3 separate regions of the Homo sapiens genome follow, and regions 2 and 3 are each linked to region 1. Evidence: promoter capture Hi-C in 16 types of primary human blood cells and fetal thymus (Javierre and others, 2016). All regions are on one chromosome and are shown on one strand. Each heading gives the region's core, a stretch centred on a gene start or on the middle of the fragment in contact. The rest is flanking DNA. Distances are from core to core; before and after follow the strand shown.

What was found. Contacts are between HindIII fragments. The CHiCAGO score rates a contact against its expected background, and 5 or more counts as called.
Region 2: a fragment that was not itself captured here is called in contact with the fragment with the promoter of VWA3B in region 1 in 3 of 17 cell types (total B cells, naive B cells and monocytes); the score reaches 12.0 in total B cells.
Region 3: a contact is called between a fragment that was not itself captured here and the fragment with the promoter of VWA3B in region 1, in 1 of 17 cell types (monocytes). The highest score is 5.9, in monocytes.

What each region holds. Positions count from the first base shown.
Region 1 is chr2:98,085,113-98,089,704 of GRCh38, forward strand. It overlaps VWA3B (von Willebrand factor A domain containing 3B), which reads left to right and starts at 2,055. Exons shown (of 28, transcript NM_144992.5): 1 at 2,055-2,251. RefSeq lists enhancers at 1,783-2,283, 2,180-2,249, 2,284-2,784. The HindIII fragment of the contact is 2,164 bases long and covers 858-3,021 here.
Region 2 is chr2:97,927,935-97,932,526 of GRCh38, forward strand. All of the region lies in intron 1 of TMEM131 (transmembrane protein 131), which reads right to left. Among named protein-coding and RNA genes, the nearest start is that of TMEM131, 66 kb to the right of the region's middle. The HindIII fragment of the contact is 190 bases long and covers 2,267-2,456 here.
Region 3 is chr2:97,944,870-97,949,461 of GRCh38, forward strand. All of the region lies in intron 1 of TMEM131 (transmembrane protein 131), which reads right to left. Among named protein-coding and RNA genes, the nearest start is that of TMEM131, 49 kb to the right of the region's middle. The HindIII fragment of the contact is 3,474 bases long and covers 736-4,209 here.

The DNA of each region.
Region 1 (4,592 bases), core at 805-3,304:
TTTGAGACTGTACAGGTAGAGAGAAGTTATTAGGGCCGCAGCATCCATGGGAGGGCTTTGGGGAGAGAGAGAAGAGCTAGAGCTGACCCTGAAGGGACGGTGATTCCCAAACTGTGGTAATCTGGGTGGCCTGAGTAAAGTCATCTGTGCTCAGAGGCAGGGACCAGGTGGGTCTCTCTGGGATGGGGGTTTGTGTTGGAGGCAATGAGCAAAAGTCTGAAAGTATAATTTGAGCCCTTAATGGTAAAGTCCAGAAGTTTGACATCAAAGATGGCAGTGATTTGATCAATGTCGCTTACTGAGGTTTAAGGAAAGATACAAATTATCTGTAAAAATGTAAACTCAAAACAAATTTGTCAAAAGTTCAGTATAGTAGTGTATCACCACTGTGCTAAAGGTTTTCTTATTTCAAATAACTCAATAAAAATGAGGCAAACCATTCTGTAACTAGCTAAACTGAAGTCCATACCAACTATTTAATGCTTCAAAATAACCTTAAACTTCTACTCACTTATCATTCTACAATTTAAGTAAGTAATGTTTCACATTTTCAACAGAATGTATGCTTATAGACACATAAACACGAAAGATAGGGACAGATCATCTTGGTGACTTGCACGTATGTGGCAAGTGTCCTAGGGAAAGGAGCAGGCATGGGGTGAAGGTGGGAACAAGAGTGCCTGGCGTGACCATGTGAGGCAGGGCATTTGGCTATGTGTTGCTGTGTGCTCTGTCTCACCCCCGTGACCCAAGAATATTAGTGTGGCAGGGTGTGGACAGCAAGGATTAATGGGTCATTGGCAAACATGGGCGAGGCTGGTGTTTTACTCCCTTCTGAACAGTCTTCAGTACTATCAAGCTTTTGCTTGTTTTTTGGTGGTGTGGATGGCAGGTTTCATTTGCAGGGCCAAATATATATAAACTAATAACTGCCAGGAATGATTTGTGATATGGAATGAAATCTTTCAGTACTTTTTAAATGATAGAGGCATTAAAAGAATGCAGGAGAAATAAATTCCTGTGGATGAAGCAGACTTTTTTTGGGGGGACAGAATTACTCAGTTCTAACATTAACTATGTTTTATTAGTTCTTTGAAAAACCTGCAAATGATCTGGTCAGTTCTATAATTTTAAAATCTAAAATCGTTTACTATCCCAATACCCTAAAAACAATACTTACTGTGGGGTCTTTTATTAAGACTTTAAAGATACTTTTCATAAGCACAATTTTATTTCCTGGTGACTGGAAAAATAGGAAAATATTTAGAGCCTTTTGCTTAATTGATAAGGTAACACTGAAACAAAGGTTAAAAACAAAGCTGAATGGAGAAAATAATGCCTATAGAAATATTCATGTCAAACAGGTAAGAATATTCTTGGCAACTGCAGCCCCTGCCTCCACAATTGCAAAATTGCAGCTCCCTGTCCCTTCTGTCTGTCTCAGCTCCGCCCACGTCCAGTGGCTGAGCTACAACGAACTGCCCCACCTCTTTTAAAGCGTCTTTCTCTGAACTGTGCAAGGAAGAGAGCATCGCCTGACAGTGGTGAGGTGAAAATTAAAACTACACAGGGGTCAATGCTCTGCTGAAAAGTATGAAAAGAAGTTCGTTTGTAGCGTTTCCCGCAGTCTCCTCGCCTCTCCTCGGCCTCTGGCGCCTTCCTCCCCTGTCTGCTCGCACCCTATATTTCTACCCCAGCTCATCAGTGTATTTGTTTGTTAATTCATTCATTCTTTCATTCATATTCTCCGCTGTTGTTAATTTTCCCATTGACAGTAGGCGCAAGGGGCAACGCCACTCGCCCTGTCCCTCTAGCGTGGCCTCTGTTTGGGGGTCTGGGGTGGAGGTCGTCCCGGCCCGGGTGGTTCCGGACGCCGGCTTTCCGCACCTGGCTCGGTGACGGCCTCGGCGCCCCGCCCTCTTGGCCACGGTCCGCAGCCATCGCCCCAGTGAGGGCGCGGTCTGTGGGCGGGGCCGGCTCCAGGAGCCGCGCTGTGATTGGCCGTGTCCAGGCAACCGCGGAGACGCCGTCGTCAACAGACCGCGCTCGGAACCAGAGGCGCGGGTCACAGAGACCTAGAACAGCTGGAATCCTTCGCCCCCGGCGCGCAGCCTTCGCCCGCCGGAATCGCTGCCTTATCCACCAGCGGGATGCTTACCTCGCCCGCCCTCTCGGGTCAGGCGGGCCCGGGAGGATGGGAGGGTGGCTGCTGAGCGGGAGCCGCCACGTCTTCCACCCGACATATTGCCTAGTAAGTGTGGGAGCGATGCCTGCCGCACGAGAGCCGCCGAGGTGCCGAGCCTTCCAACAAGCGGCCTAGGGAGGTCTTGGAAAAATGCCATTTCTGAGGTGGACTACACGCCCACTTTACAGATGCGGAAACAGTACCAGGAAAGCTCGGTGACTTGCCCTGGCCCACTTAATCGTCCGCTACCCAGGGCAAGCCGAGGGTCAAGGTACCGACCCCTCCTACTCTAGAGCTCTTTCCATCACACCTCACCCGAGCCCACGCCCAGCCGCTCTGGTGGAAAAGCGGTTTTCCTAGTTTCTGTCTATGCCATAGGCCAGCAGTTCAAGGTGATGAAGTCCACCTGGGCTTTGGAGGGAACATGGGAACCAGAAGAAACACATTTCCTGAACATAAGGATAAATATGTATAGTCTAAAAGCCAAAGCAACACTTACATGGTTTCACAATCATATCAGTTTCTTTCACCCTCCTTATATGGAAATAAGACTTAATAAGTAGATTTAGTTTCCATTTGGTAGAGCTTTTCCTTTCATTTTCTTGGAAGCTCTGTTTCTTCTCAGCAATGACCTTCCTCCTAAAGCACTCCAATTATTCTCAGATATTGCCTTCTTGACTATTTTCTCAACGGTGGGACAGTCCGTTTCAATATCCTTGTCTCTGTCCACATTATTTGAGCCAATGATCACAGCCAAGCCTTGTCCCTTAAGGGCAGAAAAAATGGGAGGAGGTTTAAGGGTTTCTGGGGAAGAGTTGCATCAGGATCCATCATGAAGCTTCGTCCCAGTTTCCTTTCTTCCTGGAAAAATCATCGTTCACAAATTCACCTAAATCACAAGATATATATCCACCTAGCCCAGACTTCTTTTTCAGAAACTAACAGGGGTATAGGAAGTTTGGGGTGTTGATAATAAAGTAGCTAGAAGCTTATTGAATGTCTAAACTGGATTAATGGACTCTCAACCCTGCACTGTCCCTGAACCTCCGAGCACATAGGACCTTTTCTCTGAGGGCATGCTGACTTCACAAGACTGTCGCCCAGGGCAGCCCAGGAGCATCTGCTTCCAGTAGACGGGGCCCTTGTACAGTTGCCAGCTTAACCTTTCTATTTTCCCCAAAGCTTTGCCTGCCCACATTTTCAGCTCAGACTTTCACTTCCTTGTTTTTCCTTTTACACTTCCTCCTTCTTCTAAGGAAATACTTTCCTATCCAAACTCTATGTATGGTTCTTGGGATGGCCTCTAAAACTTAGGGCAATGCTCAACTCCGGTATGTTGTTGTTTCCGACTTCTGGGTTACTTGGTTCCCCAATTTATAATAACCTCAGCTGAGGAAACTCTGAATAATAGTAAATAAATAAATAAATAGCATAGTTTTATCAGAAAATAATATATCCCCCTTTATTTTTTTTTGAGACAGGGTCTCGCTCTGTCCCCCAGGCTGGAGTGCAGTGGTGCAATCTTGGCTTACTGCAACCTCTGCCCCCTGGGTTCAAGCAATTCTCCTGCCTCAGCCTCCCTAGTAGCTGGGATTACACGTGTGTGTTACCATGCCCGGCTAATTTTTGTATTTTTAGTAGAGACGAGGTTTCACCATGTTGGCCAGGCTGGTCTCAAGCTCCTGACCTCAGGTGATCCGCCCGCCTTGGCCTCCCAAAGTGCCAAGAGAGCACTTTGGCACTTTAAGGGGGCATTACAGGAGTGAGCCACCGTGCCCGGCCAATATATCCCTTTTTTAAAAGAGCTGTTTCCTGATATTAGCCTTATTAACACTGTGGATATTTGCCTTCTTTGAACAAAATCAGGATTCTCTTAGTAGCTCTGAGTGATCAGTTTTATTCATCTCAACTCTCACACCAAGTGCCTGCTGCGTATGAGGCCCTGTGCTGAGAATCTTCCTGTAGTTTGTCTCCGTAGTCATTGAACTGTCTTTAAGTCTAGTGAGGACAAGCCTGAAGTGCCTAAGACCTTAGTGATAAAGTATCATAGCAAAAGTTAGGGTTTTCCCAGGGAGGGGCTGCGGAAGGTTGTGAAGGGGTTTCGGGGAGGCTTAATGGCAGAGGCAGCATTTGAAATGAGACTTGCAGGCTAAGAGTCTGCATAGGAGAGCCGTCTGAGACCAACCTGGAGGTGGGAAAGCAGGCGGGCTAGTGGGGGTGGGGTGGGGAGAAGGGGGCTACGTCCCGGCTCGCAGCAGGCTTCCTTGCTCTGATAGAACAGTTCCTATCCCACTTGAGTGGAACAATTCCTTCTGTTGGGAGATGGCTTTTCTCCCTTTCCCCCTTTCCTTCCTTTTTTTTTTTCCAGACAATACAAATATTCCATTTGTATTTCAGACAATACAAA
Region 2 (4,592 bases), core at 1,112-3,611, 160 kb before region 1:
AAAGGGATTTGGTGAGGAAGTGGGCAGGGAAAATAGCAAAAGATTATTCTGATCCAAGAAACAGCAATGCAAAGGTAATATATTTAAAAGCTAACATAGTTATACCATACAATCTGGCGATCGTGCTTCTGGTATTGACTGAACTGATTTGAAACCTTACATACAAAAATCTACATACAATTCCTTAAAGCAGCTTTATTCATAATCACCAAAATCTGGGCATAGTCAAGATGGCCATCAAAGGTGAACAGACAAACTGTGGTATATCTATACAATGGAATATTACTAAAAGAAAAGGCTACATACTGTATGCTTCCAAGTACATGACATTCTGGAAAAGGGACAATTATGGAGATAGTAAAAAGATCAGTGGTTGCTAGGAGATCAGGGGGAGATGGGAAAGGTTGAATAAGTGAAGCACAAATATATTTTAGGGTGGTAAAACCATTCTTTATCAAATTGTAATGGTGGATACAGGACATGATGCATTTGTCAAAACAGAACTTCACAGCACAAAAAGTGAATCTAAATGTATGCAAATTTTAAAAATTTATTTAGAAGACTGGGAGACTCCAGGATGGAATGCATAAAATGACAAAACAATTTAACTGTATTACAAATGAATGAATCAACCTTACTGAAGTGGGGGGAGAGGGGAGAGTGCTCACCTAAGTAATTCTGGAAATGAATAGAATCTGTAAGACTAAAGGCAAAAGAAACCATACACACGCAATGTATTCTAGTTAATAATGCTTTTTCCCATGGGAGTTTGGGTTAACCATTCTGATGCCACTATACATGTACACTGAAATCGAACAATTAAGTACACAGATGGTGGATACTGGGAGCCAGGTGTCTCACTGTTGGAAGAGCAATTTATACAGAAACAAGGCGGGGGAGGCCAAAATGATCCAGGTGGTAATGGTTAAGAGTCAGTGATATCAGTAAGAATTCATGTTTAGTGAAACATATACATTATTACATACATATAAGAATATTTATAGATGTGTATATTCATAGGTTAGTATACATACATGTATTTCCTTGCTCTGTCAGCTCTAAGAGCCTAAAGCAATGACATGCCAATAGCAAAGAACACACCTGGAACTCAGATCTTGTGTTCTAATATTATTTTCCAATAAAAGAAACCAGGGCTTCCTGGAGCAATGGCCGATTTGAGGACAGGGGCAGGAAATACACGAGATGAGAATGGAGCATCCTATAGTGCCGGAAAGTAAAAAATAGAGAAAACCACCCAAATCCTACACTGATGGGGATAGAGAAAGGAAGGTAAGAATCAACAGAAAGAGCTCCCAAATGACCAAAGCTGAAACAATCTGAGCAACAAAATGAAGAAGTACTAGATGTAGCCCAAAGTATAAAATAAATATCCATAAACCCATATTGCTATAAATTGCTGAATAAATGGGAGAAAAGGGACAACTTTCACATGCAGAATTTCAACTATGTGATATTTCATTTGGCTTAATATGGAATTCACTGACTCCCATTTGTTGGTCTTTTGGAAATCAGGGAAGACACTCACTGTCCCACATATGTACCTGGCTGTTCCGGTATGACAAAAGTGGACAGTCAAGCAGCAGAATAAGATACTAGTTAATTAGATTACATTACCTCGTTGGATGTTTTTTCTGCCTGCCAAGCATCCTTTTCTCCTTAGTCTAGCAGTCACATCCTGATTTTATTTTGGGAAAACTCCTGTCCTCCATTTCCTGTGTTTCTCTTCAATGACAGTGCCAACCTGCTCCACTTCTATTCATCCCCTAACCAGTCTGTGGCATATAGAGAATATTCAATAAATACTGAAAGCATGAATGATGTCCCACCTTTTTGCTCAGGTACAATAAGCACTGGCATTTGTACTTACTGATGCAAATGACCTTTTTCTGGTTATGTTATCTCTAGTCCTGGCTTATAGTGGAATTTCAATATCAAGATCAGAGCTAATGGCTCCAACAGAATTACTGACACAGTATACTTAGAATGTCTCTAAGTAAAGTGATAAACTCATTACAATAAAGGACTATGAATATAAAAGGCTCTGCTCAGCTCACCCATCCCATTCCTCACCTGTTCCCCCCACTTTTTAACACAAACTGAAATTTCACAGGATCCAGAGAATTTTTTGGTTATTCCCTACTGAAGACAAATTTATTAACATAAGAACACAATGAACTAACAAGAAATAACTGAACAGCCAGATGTTCACAATGTAAAAGACATAAAGTCAAGGCCTCTAATTAGAAGCTTTATGTCTAATTGGCAGAGGAAACCAACAAGAAACAACTGGAAACGAGCTATAGGTGGCTGCTATTAAGAGTTCCAATAGAACGACCACTGAATGAGTTCCCACCATTGAGCCAGAAGAAATGCTGATCTAACTGAAGAGAACTACATAAAGGCAGTAGTTTGGGTATACTGCTTTTTAAATCAGAAGCTTTAAAAATATATAAAAATTCTATTATGAATTATGAATTCATATTTTAAAAAGTATGAGTTATGTTAAAAATATGAATGTTAGTTAAAAAAATTAATAACAGCAGCTGATTATAAAGTCTCAAAAGGAAAATACTATGTTACACATCACTGGCTTTCCTTAAAAGATGTAGAGATAAATAGGATTCAACTCTGGCATAAAACAAATTAACGTATTTTGCTTTAAACAGCCAATTATAATACCTTTCAATTATATGCCTCAAAAAACAGAACACTAGATACAGACTTAATCATTTCACATGCAGTTATTAAGCTATAAAATATAAAATGTAACAAAAGTCAGTCAAGTTATCACATCTCCAGATTCAAAACCAGAACTAGTAACAGCTTCCTCTCCCAAAAATATTTCCCCTAATTTTATGCTGTTAATGAATCCCAAACTTTCCTGATGTTCCCTAGTTCAAGCATCAAACAACTGTAATTGAAATAAAAATAAACTAATAATTACTGATCACTGTTGTTAATATTCAAACTAACCCTATGACACAGACATTATGATCCATTTTAAGGTAAAGAAATACACACAGAGAGATATACTTAGCAAGAAAGTGGCTAGAGAAAAGTATGAATTCTGGCAATGTGAATCTGTGCTTCTAAACCCATCCCTATTTATTTTCAAAATAAACTTTACAGAATGCTCATGACTAACAGCACCTTTTAGCAACCAAATTTTTTTAATTGGGCATATATTTCTGACAATAAGTGAGGAAAGGAAGATTTACAAAGGAAAGAAAAGGATTTACATTTCTGGCTTTTACGATTCTACTCATATTTACTCTGAAGCTGGGCTCAGTAAGATCTACTTTAAGCTCCTCACACCGACCCACATCTCTAAGCTGTCTGTGAGTAACAAAGCCATTTATAATCAGTGTAAAAATGTCAATGTGTCAGTTGTTTCAAAATAGGAACACTTGCTTTCAAAACAGAAGTTCACAAACTGTTTACTTCCCTATTTCATTTAGTTAAGATTAAAAATATCTTTCACTTTAAAGACAAATCTTTGTCTACTAAGTTTTTGTTTTTCTTTTAGGTGAAGGTATTTTTCTGAATATTACAACTGATGAATAAATATAATTTGCAATTTTAATACATCTAAAATAACTCATGAAAAAAACAAATGCTGTAAATAACTAGTAGAAAAATTTATGCCATATTGTGGGGGGTGGTATCAGGCATTAGGAACCTAGGTTGTCATTGCATATCTTTACCTTCTAGCCTTCACAATCTCCTCACCCACAAAAGGAGAAGGCTGGACTAGTCAAATCAGCGATTTTTAAACTTTCTTCTACAAAAACTAGGAACAGAAGAAAGGGCCACACAGGCAGGCCTCAGGAGGGTCCCCAAAGCTGTGTTACAGAGTCACCTTGCCTAGCATGCTGTTGTTATGGCTGGCATCTTCTCCTCCTTCAAGTCTCAGCCTTGACCCCACTCACAGTGTGGCCCTCCTTGGCTTCTCAGAGCAGCCCAGTTATCCTCTATTATATTCCCTATCTTAATTCTTATCACAATCTGTAAAAGTTCCTGGTTTGCTTGTCAATAATCTGTGCCTAGAAGCAAGTCTGAAAAACATAAGATAAGAAATTCTGGTTAGGATAATGACATTGTGCTTGAGCCCAGGGGGCAGAGGTTGCAGTGGGCTGAGATAGTGCCAATGCACTCCAGCTTGGGTGACAGAACAAGACCCTGTCTTAAAAAAAAAAAAAAAAAAGACACTGCTATTTTAGAATTCAACATTGTTAAATACATCAATATCTCTTTTACAGTTACACTTGCTCAATATTTTGTTTCAACAAAGGGCTCAATAGCAATTTTAAAACATCCTGGACTAGGTCCACATGGGTCCCTTCGAGCTTAAAGACATTTTATGATCAAAGCTTTGTTTCTTCCCTCATTAGTTTTATTATCTGAAAAATGTAACATATACTTGTCTTCTTGCCACATTAGAAGTACAAGGGAACTCATATAAACCATATTTTAATTTTATCAAGACCACTCAATATCATCAACTTCCTAAAGAAGCTAATGCCCATGTTGTTTACTAAAACTCAAAATATAATCCTATGTAATTCAGATGT
Region 3 (4,592 bases), core at 1,223-3,722, 140 kb before region 1:
ATGGAGCAGCCACACTGGAAAACAGTTGGGTAGTTATTAAAAAAACTAAATATAAAGTTACCATACAATATACCAATTATACTCTTATGTATATACATAAGAAAACCGAAAATACTTGTGCAAACAAAAACTTATATACCAGTGTTCATAATAGCATTGTTCAAATTCATGATAGTCAAAAATGAAAACAACCTAAATGTCCACTGACTAATGAGCAGTTAACAAAATGTGGTAAATCCATTTAATGGAGTATTTTTCAGCCACAACAAAAAGGAATGAAGTACTGACACAAAGCTCACAGATGAATCTTGAGGACTAATGCTAAGTGAAAGCAGCCAGATACAAAAGGCCATATATTTTAGTATTCCATTTATAGGAAACGTCCAGAATAGGCAAAAAGAACCTAGATTAGCAGTTGTCAGGGGCTGGGAAGGAATAGGGTGTGACTCCTATTGTATAAAGGATTTCTTTTGGGGTGATGGAAATATTTTGGAATGAGACAGTTGTGATGGTTGTACAAGTCTATGAGTATACTTCAAAAACCCACTGAATTATACACTTTAAAAGGTGAAGTATGATATGAGAAATTGTATCTCAATATTTTAAAAGTCAACAACAGCAAAAAGCATGCTTTTGTGTTCTATTCCCTAAATCTTTTCTAAAATGTTTATCTAAATGGTATTTTAAATATTGTGTAACCAGAGGACAAAATGTAATCTCTGCTCAAGAGCTTTAAGCTTATAGTTCTTTCATGGATACAAATTCATTCATTAGATTGTGCACGGGGAGGAGAAAACAGCAAATGATAAAGCAAATGGGTCAAACTGTCAACAGCAGGTGAATCTGGGTAAAGAATATGAATGTTTTTGACTATTTTCATTCTTAAAAATTTTCTGAAAGTTTGAATATATGCCAAAAATTTGAAAAAAGAAAACCACTACTGTAAGACTTCTAAAAATCTCAACGTTTGAACACATTCACTCTTTTAAAAAGATATACATCAAGCAATTGTAAATTCACTTAAATTATGCTAAGTTGGAAATACTGATTACAGAGGAGGTTGGTATCCTTACTGTAGCCACAGATTAAATGTGCCAAGAACATGCTGCTGACATGTCTGTGACTACAGTGGTATTATAGCCATCTTAAAACACTCAGTGGTATTACAACCATCTTAAAACACTCAGTTAAAATGATGCTTATGCCAACACAGCTATTGTGCAGGGATTTTATCTTGCATTACATCTTGTAATATAATATTTATGATTGGAAATATGGTATATCCATACAGTTATCTATATTGCATACTCATATATAATCTATAAGATCACATTCTAAATATTAGATAAGTAATCCATATCTTGTTTTTTAATAAAAAAAGAAAAGAAATAATAAAGAATATAAATCAATAAAGTAGAAAGCAGAAAATAGAGAAAAATCGAAGGAAACAAAAGTTTTCTGTTTGGGAAGATTAACAAAATTGATAAACATCTAGCTAGTCAGTTTGAAAAAAGAGAAGCCAGGTATTGTGAACATAAGAAATGAGAGACTGAATACGACTATACTTTCTATAAACATTAGAAGACTAATCAGCAAATATAATTAACAACTCTCAGTTTATGATACGGACAAATTCCTTCAAAGACTCAAAATACCAAAGGTCACTCACAAAAAACTAGCTAACTTGAATAGGCTTATATGTACTTAAGAAACTTATTTTGTAGTTAAAATCTTCTCACAAAGATAACTCCAGGATTAGATGTATTTAACGATGAGTTCTCCCAAATATTTAAGGGGAAAAAAAAAATCATACGCAAACTCTCCCAGAAACAGGAGAAACTCTCCAAACTCATTTTACAAAGCCAGCATCACTCTGATCCCCAAAACAAATAAGGGTATTAAAACAAAAAAACTACAGACCAATTTCACATCTTATTACAGATGCAAAAATTCTTGTCAAAATTTCAGCAAATGTAATCCATTAATGTATAAAAAAGATAAAAACATCATGACCAAGTGGGATTTATCCCAGGAATGAAATACTGTTTAAATATTCAAAAAAAAAACTTCAACATATAAGACTTAAAAAACAAAATTAATCATTTCAAAAAACAGACAAAAAACATTGGACAAAATTCATCATCCATTCATGGTAAAAGATCTTGGCAAAATGGGCACAAAAAGAACTTCCTTAAGCTGATAAAAGACATGTACAAAAGATATACAGCTATCATCATACTTAATGGTGAAAGACTAAATACTTTCCATTTAAGATTAGAACAAGGTAAGATTGTTCCTTCTCACCACTCCTATTTAACATCATAGTGAAAGAATAAATGAAGGTAAGAGGGCAATCTTCGTGCCAATAAAACGCAAAGAAAAAAAAAGTATGTAGACTGGAAAAGAGAAAATAAAACTGTCTTTAGACACAGACATGATATCTCCTATAACACCTATAAAAATTCTACTAGAATTTTTTTGATTCTGGTACAATTTTTACAGGTGATACAGGATATAGGAAAGTAGTAAGATTAGGAAAGTAGGAAAATGCAAGGCCAACATATAAAAATCAATCATATTTCTAATAACAGCAAGGAACAACTGGAAAATAAAAATCAAAACCATTTACAATTGCATCAAAATACTAAGATAAATATTTGACAAAATACAGCTGGAAGAAATTAAAGAACACCTAAATAAAAAGAAAGATATACCATGTTCATGCATCAAAAGAACCAATATTGTTACAGCAATTTTCCCCAAATTGATCTAGACAGTCAATACAATTCCAATCAAGTTTTTTGTTGTAAAAATTTACAAGATGATTCTAAAAGTTATACAGAAAAGCAAAGGACCCAAAATAGTAAAAAGAATTTTGAAAAAGAAGAACAAGATTGGAGGACTCAACATTGCCTGATTTAAGACTTAAAATCATAGTAATCAAGATGGTATAAAACTGACACAGATAACAGATGTGTGAAATAGAACAGAGACTCCAAAAGTAGACCCCCACATATATGGTCAACTGATTGCAACAGGGTGCCAAGGCAATTCAATTGGGGAAAAGTAATCTTTTCAATAAGTCATGCTGGTACAAATGAATAGCCACATGGGAAAGAAAAACAAAAGAGAATCTGGATGCTCCAAAATTTACAAAAATCAACTTGAAATGAATAACAGAATTTATGTAAGAGCTAAAATTCTAAAGTTCCTAGAAATCAACACGGGAAAATTTTAGTGATCTTGAGTTTGGCAAAGATATTCTTAAGTAGGATACAAAAAAGAAAAAAATCTTGAACTATAAAAGAAAAAAAGATGAATTGAGAGGTGGATTAAAAATTTTTTTTTTAGCTTTTACTCCTCAAAAGACACTGTTACAAAAGTAAAAATACAAGCCACAGACTGGAAATAATATTTGCAAAATGCTTATCTGACAAAGGACTTGTATCCAGAATATGTAAATAACTGTTACAACTAAATAAGAAAACAAACAGCTCAATTTAAAAAAATGCAAAAAAGATGTGAACAGACATTTAAGCAAAGACAACATGAATAGCACATGAAATAAGAGGGCACATGAAAAGATGCTCAAAATCCTTAGTCATTAGGAAAATAAAAATTAAAACACCAGGAGACACCACTACATAACCAATAAAATGATTAAGATGAAAACTTCTTACCATATCAGGTGTTGGCAAGGATGTGCAGGAAGTGGAACTGTAATACCCTGCTAACGGGAATATAAAATGGTGCAACCACTTTGGATAACATGTCAGTAGTTTCTTTTTTTTTTATTTATTTTTTTTGAGACGGAGCCTCGCGCTGTCGCCCAGGCTGGAGTGCAGTGGTGTGATCTCGGCTCACTGCAAGCTCCGCCTTCCAGGTCCAAGCCATTCTCCTGCCTCAGCCTCCTAAGTAGCTGGGACTACAGGCACCCGCCACCACGCCCGGCTAATTTTTTGTATTTTTAGTAGAGATGGGGTTTCACCATGTTAGCCAGGATGGTCTCGATCTCCTGACCTCGTGATCTGCCCGTCTCGGCCTCCCAAAGTGCTGGGATTACAGGCGTGAGCCACCGTGCCAGGCCAGTAGTTTCTGAAAAAGTTGAACACATAACCCACCAGACATTCCATTTCTAGGTATTTGCCCAACTGAAATGAAACGTATGTGTGAATGAAAATGAAAGACTTGTACATGAATATTTAGGGAAGCTTTATTTGTAATAGTTCAAAAGAGGAAACAACTCACATTCCCATCAACGGGTGGGTGGATAAACAAATTGTGATACAGCAACACAGTGGAATACTATGCAGTACTAAAACAGTCAAACATGCAACATTACAGACAAATCTAAAAATAATCATGCTGAGTGAAAGAAGGGAGACAACAGAAGAGTAAATACTGTATGATTCTGCTTATACAAAGTTGTATAATATGCAAACTAATCTAAGTGACAGAAAGCAGAAGAACTGTCGCCTGGGATTAGGAAGGGAGGTAAGAAAATTCTACAAAGGGTCACAAGGAAATAGAGAGTGCACACGTTCACACAATCTTCACTATGGTAATAGTTTCACATGGGCCATAACTCAAAC